Regions from separate parts of the Homo sapiens genome. Here region 2 is linked to region 1. Evidence: promoter capture Hi-C in 16 types of primary human blood cells and fetal thymus (Javierre and others, 2016). All regions are on one chromosome and are shown on one strand. Each heading gives the region's core, a stretch centred on a gene start or on the middle of the fragment in contact. The rest is flanking DNA. Distances are from core to core; before and after follow the strand shown.

Evidence for each region. Contacts are between HindIII fragments. The CHiCAGO score rates a contact against its expected background, and 5 or more counts as called.
Region 2: a contact is called between the fragment with the promoter of ACOT6 here and the fragment with the promoter of PNMA1 in region 1, in 2 of 17 cell types (M1 macrophages and naive CD8 T cells). The highest score is 6.2, in M1 macrophages.

The regions. Positions count from the first base shown.
Region 1 is chr14:73,711,731-73,715,633 of GRCh38, reverse strand. PNMA1 (PNMA family member 1) reads left to right here and starts at 1,250. Exons shown (of 1, transcript NM_006029.5): 1 at 1,250-3,851. The coding sequence starts at 1,995. The coding sequence ends at 3,056. It overlaps MIDEAS (mitotic deacetylase associated SANT domain protein), which reads left to right. Exons shown (of 13, transcript NM_001367710.1): 13 at 1-512. RefSeq lists enhancers at 785-854, 1,795-1,854 and silencers at 1,075-1,354, 1,535-1,704. The HindIII fragment of the contact is 4,676 bases long and covers 1-3,903 here.
Region 2 is chr14:73,610,306-73,614,208 of GRCh38, reverse strand. It overlaps ACOT6 (acyl-CoA thioesterase 6), which reads right to left and starts at 1,692. Exons shown (of 3, transcript NM_001365788.1): 1 at 1,177-1,692. The coding sequence starts at 1,637. It also overlaps a transcript of HEATR4 not described here. RefSeq lists a silencer at 112-356 and enhancers at 1,432-1,481, 1,015-1,514, 1,532-1,581. The HindIII fragment of the contact is 17,987 bases long and covers 1-3,903 here.

The sequences.
Region 1 (3,903 bases), core at 1-2,500:
TTTACAGGAAGTAGGGATATTTTTATAAAACAATTGTGTCCTCCCCACATTTTGCTATGTTAATATTTGCTTCTAACAATTTGCAGCTGTTTCACTTTTTCCTCATTTGTCTCTAAGTTGAAGGCTTTGTTGGAGGGGACAGAGCACAGGAACAGCCTTGACAGTCTGTAATTATTGTACAGATATTTTAATAGCATATAAATAAGTATATTCCTTTTATTTTGAAACAAAAATGATCAGACACTGCCTTTTGTGTGTTTGCTGCCTGTGGCATCCTTTTTTAAAAAGACTGTTACATATTAAAATAGTGTACATATATAAATATTACCTCTTTTGCTGTACAGTTGTGATAGAGACTGAAGATTTTATTTTTTGTGTGCTTTTTATAAGAAAAAAATTAATACACTAAAGAATCTTGCTGATGTGATTGTAATGTACCTATGTAACTTATTTACTTTTGAATGTTCTTCTGTATCTTTAAACCTTTTATTAAATAAGGTTTTAAAAATTCAGAGTTGAATGCTTTGTTCTCTTGGGATTTTCACCATCTGGGGTTGATGTAAGTGCGCCTTGTCTTGCTTGCAGGGAGATTACTCGACATTTTTGAACCATAAGGATTCTCTTTTAGCAGCCTATTGTCAATGATGCCAGCCAGGAAAAGGAAAATAATACACTAATGTTTGCCTGGCTAAAAGATGACTCAGTAGACACAGACAGATTTTTACAAAATTTTAGACAAGAAAAAGTCTAAACTCAGTGTCTCACACAAATACACAGAAATGGCGCACTCCGACATTTTGGCTTCATTGGGATGAAATATGCAGGGTGCACAGTGTGGTCAGGGGCAACGGGAAGCCAGGGTTCTGAGGAGAGTATTTTCACGTGCAGGGTGGACTGGCTGAGCAACCCGAGTAGACAAGTCCACCATGAGGGATGCATTTCCAACAATATCATCTTAAATCCACTCCAGGATTGGGTTATTATTTTTAAAACACGGTGCTTAGTAGTAGTTGTTTACTGTTAAAATGCTAAATTATGAAAAAGGAAATGCGCCATCAGAGAAACAAATGCCCGAGCCCCTCGCTGGCTCCACGGCAACCGCTCGACCCCCGCGAGCCGCCGGAGCAGGCGTGCCTCGCGCCGGCTGGGACACCGTTGCCATGGAGACGCCCGAGCAGCTCCGCCGCGGGGGCGGGACGGGGCGGGGCGGGGCGGACGCCGCTCGCCGGCTGGCCCCATCCTCCACTGCAGCAGTAACGTCGCGGCGGGTTGCGGGTAGGACTGGACGCCAGAGCAGCCGCGCAGCGCCTGAACCGCTGCGGGCCGCCGCGGCCGCCCCTTCCCACCCTCGCCTCTGCTGTCTCCAGCCTCGCTTCTCCGACTTTCCTGCTCCTCTGCTGCCTTCGTTTCTGGTCCTCGGCCGTCCTCGCCGCCCGCCCAGAGGAGTCCCCGCGCCCGCCAAGAAGCCGCTTTCCGCTGGCCCGCAGCCGCCGCGACTTCGGCACAGTTTCTCCCTCTGGCTAGTCTCCCAAACGGCCGCTCCTCGCCCGCGGGAAGACCAGGCTGCGACCGCGAACGCCCGATCCTCTCCAGGAGCCGCAGCGAGCGCCCGGCGGCCACGCCCCGCGACCACACCCCGGCGGCTCTCGGCCCAGCGCGCCTGCCTTCGCCGCCCGCCGTCGCTCCTCGCCCGCTGCACGACGACGCGACGCCCCTGCTGCAGGCGGCGGACCCGACCGGACCCAGACCCAGACGCAAGATGGCGACGGCCGCGTGACTGCCTCAGCGTCCCCGAGCTCGGCTCCGAGTGCACCTACGGACTGACTGTGGGGGCAGAGAAGGGCGAGATCAGGACTCTGTCTTTGTTAATCGTGACTGCATGAAGGTCGCCTCCCTCGGGCCTACTTGGTGGGAGTGTCTGGTATTGTTCTAAGGCCAGGAGCACGGTGAGCCACAGTCTGTTGGTAGAATTTGGCGTCTTGATAGTTGAGAAAATGGCGATGACACTGTTGGAAGACTGGTGCCGGGGGATGGATGTGAACTCCCAGAGAGCTCTGTTAGTCTGGGGCATCCCAGTGAACTGTGATGAGGCTGAAATCGAAGAGACCCTCCAGGCTGCGATGCCCCAGGTCTCCTACCGAATGCTTGGGAGAATGTTCTGGAGGGAAGAAAATGCGAAAGCAGCCTTATTAGAGCTCACTGGCGCTGTAGATTACGCCGCGATCCCCAGGGAGATGCCGGGCAAAGGAGGGGTCTGGAAAGTGTTATTTAAGCCCCCAACTTCTGATGCTGAATTTTTAGAAAGATTGCACCTCTTCCTAGCTAGAGAGGGGTGGACCGTGCAAGATGTTGCCCGTGTCCTTGGGTTTCAGAACCCTACTCCGACCCCGGGCCCAGAGATGCCAGCAGAGATGCTAAACTATATTTTGGATAATGTTATTCAGCCTCTTGTTGAGTCCATATGGTACAAGAGGCTGACACTTTTCTCGGGGAGGGACATCCCAGGGCCTGGAGAGGAAACCTTTGATCCCTGGCTGGAGCACACTAATGAGGTCCTAGAGGAGTGGCAGGTGTCCGATGTAGAAAAGAGGCGGCGGTTGATGGAGAGTCTTAGAGGCCCCGCCGCTGATGTTATTCGCATCCTTAAGTCCAACAACCCCGCGATAACCACTGCCGAATGCCTGAAGGCGCTTGAGCAGGTGTTTGGGAGCGTTGAGAGCTCTAGGGATGCCCAGATCAAATTTCTGAACACTTATCAGAACCCGGGAGAAAAATTGTCTGCTTATGTCATTCGTCTGGAGCCTCTGCTACAGAAGGTGGTAGAGAAGGGGGCCATTGATAAAGATAATGTGAACCAGGCCCGCCTAGAGCAGGTCATTGCCGGGGCCAACCACAGCGGGGCCATCCGAAGGCAGCTGTGGCTTACCGGGGCTGGGGAAGGGCCAGCCCCAAACCTCTTTCAGTTGCTGGTGCAGATCCGTGAGGAGGAAGCCAAGGAGGAGGAGGAGGAGGCTGAGGCCACCCTTCTGCAGTTAGGCCTGGAAGGGCACTTCTGAGTGCCAGGAAAGGCAGCTTTAGTGCAGACCTAGATCACAGCTACTTTTCTTGTCCCTGTGGGGTCTTACAGATGTGTCTCTGAGTAGTAAAGGCTTAGCCTTGTTCTGTTTTGTTGTTTTTTGGAGGGGAAGGTTAGTCAGGCCTGAGTATTCATGTAACATTCTAAAATTGTGCCAGCGAGCACCGTGAACGACTGCAATGCAAGCGGGTCTTGCTGGCTAAAATGCCAGGTAAAGGGTTGGTTGGACACAGCGCTTAGTGCACGCTGTCATCATGGACATCATAATCAGTTGTGAAAAACACGCGAACCTATGACACTTCTTATTCCACACTGAATGTGAAATTGCATGTTCAGATGTTTACTACGAGGCCTGGCTCACAGGAAGTGTTCAGTAAAAGTATGCACTGTTAGATTACTGATAACGCGGATAGATTTTTGTTTACCATAAATTGTTCCAGATTTATATTAATGGAAGGAAGTGTGCATTTATTAGCTATTACTCAACTTTACAATGCAAACATCTTATTTCTCATCTTTAAACATGTCGACCAGTTTAATTGAAAAGTATTCTGAGACTGCAAAATGGGGTGTTAAAAAATACTGCAGTTACGGAGCTGTGTAAACCAGTTTCTCATTGCATAAGATACAGATGTAAATTGCATGGAGAGGTTGATATGCACCTGTACAGTAATTCACTCCCCCATTTCACATCTTTGTCAGAGAATAGTTCTTGTTCATACTGAGTGTTCTAAATTTGAAGTTATATATACAAATTAAAATATTTTAAAAATTCTGTTGTCTTCTCATTTTTCTGGCATGTATAAACATTTTTAGCCTAAGTAAAC
Region 2 (3,903 bases), core at 443-2,942, 100 kb after region 1:
TGTTGTTTGAGGCAGGGTTTCACTCTGTTGTCCAGGCTGGAATGCAGTGGCGTGATCTCAGCTCACTGCAACCTCTACTTCCTGATATCAAACAATCCTCCCACCTCAGCCTCCCAAGCAGCTGGGACTACAGGCATGCACCACCATGCCTGCCTAATTTTTTTTTTTTTTTTTTTTTTTTTGTAGAGACAGAGTTTCACCATGTTGCCCAGGCTGGTCTTGAACTCCTGGGCTCAAGTGATCTGCCCACCTCAGCCTCCCAAAGTGCTGGGATTACAGGCCTGAGCCACTGTGCCCGGCTCATCATTTTTATATGGTAGAGGTTTAAGTCAGGAATTTAGTTAGAAGGGATTAATCAGGAGTCTTCTTTCTGGGCTACCTTTACCTAGCAAACATCCTGTGTTTACTTAGACTAGGGTTCCTCAACCTCAGTAGTACAGACATTTTCAGCAAGATAATTCTTTGTTCTGGTGGTTGTCCTGTGCATTGTGGAATGTTTAGCAGCATCTCTGGCCTCTGCCTGCTAGATGCCAATAGCACCTCTCCCTTCAGATATGACAACCACAAATGTCTCCAGATATTGCCAAATTTCCCCCAGGGAGGGCGGCTAATCATTGCAGGTTGAGAACCACGTACAGCATGTTTATGATAGAAGGGAGAGGACTGTCAGGCAGTTTTGTGTGTGTTTTTAAACAATTAAAGGGCATTGCCAATACTGTGGATTTTAGCTTCTTTGGAAGTTTGATGTGAAAGGAGGCAAAAATCCTTCTTGCACATCAGCTTAAGGTTTTGCCCATATCGTATTCAAACAAAACCACATGGCTGGCACATAGTGGCTCTCAATAAATATATAATAAGTTGAATGCACTATTCAGCACATAGCTAAAGTGGTGGTGCCTCCAGGGAGGGACGTGAAACTTAAAAAGGAAAGACTGGAGTAGCTACTCAGGAGGCTGAGGCGAGAGGACTTGAGCCCAGGAGTTCGAGGCTGCAGTGTGAGCTACGATCCAGCCACGGCACTCCAGCCTGGGCAACAGCGGACGCCCAGACTCAGAATCCATGACAGACTCTGGAGCGAAGGAACAAGTTCAGGGATGTTCCACAATCACGCGATTCCCAGGACAGGAAAGGGGCCGGTGGGGGTCGCAGAGCTCGACCAAATTCTGGGCAGACTACTCATCCGGCGGCAGGAAGAGCGCGGCGCGCACCGGGCCCGCGCGCACCGGCTCGCGCCGCACCCCCGGCCGGAGAAAGTCGCGCTTGTTCTGCGCCAGGCACAGCAGCCGCCCGGGCTCGGTGTCGTGGCCGTCCAGCACTTCCAGCTCCACGGCGAAGGGCGTCCGCACGTCGCGCTTCACCAGCCGCACCAAGGCTTTCTCGGGCTCCAACGCCCACAGCAGCCCCATGGGCTGGAGCCCCGCGAAGCTGCCTCCCAGCGCGGGCGCGCGCTCCAGGTCCAGCTCGTCGCGGGCGTCGGCACGGTAGCGCGCGTGGGCCCGGAAGAGCGCGCCCTCTTCGTCGCGCAGGGACGTGCGCAGCGTGACTGGCTGCTCCGGGGCCAGGCCGCGCACTGCGATGCGCAGCGGCTCGTCCCAGCAGCAGCGGCCCGCGGGCTCCAGGATCAGCGTCGCTGCCATCCCAATCTGGGTAGAACAGGGGCGACCCAGCTCCGCGGAGTCAGTGGGCGGGCCTGGCGGCTTTGCCGAGCGCTGGAAAGTAGTCGAGGGCGGAGCCCTTAACACTACTCCCATTGGTTGGACTTGGGGACAGGCTCCAGGCCGCTGCGTGGGGCGCCTAGAATTTGTGCAAATACACCAGTGTCCCAAATGAAAGAGTATCTGCTGAAATAAGAGTTAATGACCAATCCGGCCGGGGGCGGTGGATCACGCCTGTGATCCTAGAACTTTGGGAGGCCGAGGTGGGTGGATCACACCTGAGGTTAGGAGTTCAAGACCAGCCTGACCAACAGAGTGAAACCTCATCTCTACTGAAAATACAAAATAGCCAGGTGTGGTGGCGCATGCCTGTAATCCCGGCTACTTGGGAGGCTGAGGCAGAAGAATTGCTTGAACCCAGGAGGCAGAGGTTGCATTGAGCCAAGATTGCACCATTGTACTCCAGCCTAGGCAACAAGGGCAAAACTCCGTCTAAAAAAAAAAAAAAAGAGTTAATGACTATTCCTGCAATCCAATGTGGTGAGTGTCGAAATAGAGGCACAAAAACCACTGAGAGCTAAAGGATTGAGAGAGATACAGTCCAAGAATCTAGATTTTGAAAAAGCATCCCAGGTGATTGTACTCAGGTGACCCCTTGGAGAAACATGGTCGTAATCCGTCCTTTACCCCTCAGTCCCTTACCAAGCCTTTTTTCCAGGGCTAATGGTACCTGGAGCAAAGCAGATGTTTAGGGAGGCAGACCTAGCCGAGTTCTGGTCTGACCCTGATCCTTAATATTAATACCTGGTGATCTTTAGCAAGAAACATAACCCTCTAAATTCAGTTTTCTTATCTGAAAAGGCTTATTGTGACCATTAAATGGGCTAATGTGTAAAAACACTACACTGACACACCTGTAGGTTAGTACCCAGTGAAAGTTTTGTTTTGTTTCTTACCTCACAAATCTAATCACTGGCAGAGTCCATTTTGGGTTGTATGCATACAGAGTTCTGGCAGTAAGCAAGTGGCACTCTCAGCCTGTGTAATTGAGGAGAGTTTTATAAAGGTACTATCTACAAAGGCATGGGCAAGATTTAAAAACAAAAACAATGAAACAAGATTCGGTGTAGAACCCTGAATCTGAAGGTTCAAGGGAAGGGGGCAGTCTGATAGGAGTTGTACCTTTTTTAGAAGGAACCTATGGTTTGTGGCAGGAAGGAGGAGACTATAAGTCCCTTGACTCTCCTCTTGTTTTTCAGTATCTTGCTAATGCCTCTCTTTGGCCAAACCCAACCACACAGCTCAACCTAGCTGGGAACATAGCAGGGTGGAGAAGGAAGAAGAGCATATAGTGATGCCCAGCTCAGTAAACATGTATAAACTGAACAAAAAGGTATTAGACTCTATGAAGCAAGTTCACTGTATGCTGGTTACCAACTTGTCTGAGTCCAGTGAGAAAACACATTCATATATTTAATACAACAATTTACATGAACTGGATTTATTACTTACAGATAGGCAGCAAAGAATGACAGAAGCCTAAGAATCATTGGAAACCAGTCCCCCAAGGCTCAGGAATGCTGCCTGGGTGATGGAATCTCATGTGTGTGTGCCCCACTTGCACTGCAGCTGCCCTGAGTTTTGTACTCTGGGGTCATGTGACTGCTGGGTTAAAGCATTGAAAGACATCCTGTTTGTAGGGAGGGGCTGGAATAGAGCCAGGGCTATTCCAGCCAGTCCGTCCCTCTCTCAGGATGTTACATTCCCAGCACGTTCTATGCTTGAGAACTACTAGTGAGAAAGAGGGGAGAACTGAGTCAGTCCAAGGCCAACCAGAGAACTGCCCTGCAGTCCATCCCCAACCCAGATACCTCCTTTAGTAAACCTAGTACATTTCATATGCCCTCCAGACCCCCAGGATCTGGAGGCAGAGGTTTGTCTGATCATATTAATATGGCACCTTGGTCGGGCACGGTGGCTAATGCCTGTAATCCCAGCACTTTGGGAGGCCGAGGGGGGCGGATGACTTGGGGTCAGGAGTTTGAGACCAGCCTGGCCAACATGGTGAAACCCTGTCTCTACTAAAAATACAAAAATTAGCTGAACGTGGCAGCACGCGCCTGTAATCCCAGCTATTCAGAAGGCGGCGGCAGGAGAATTGCTTGAACCCGGGAGGTGGTGATTGCAGTGAGCCGAGATCTCGCCACTGCTCTCCAGCCTGAGCGACAGAGCAAGACTCCCTCTAAAA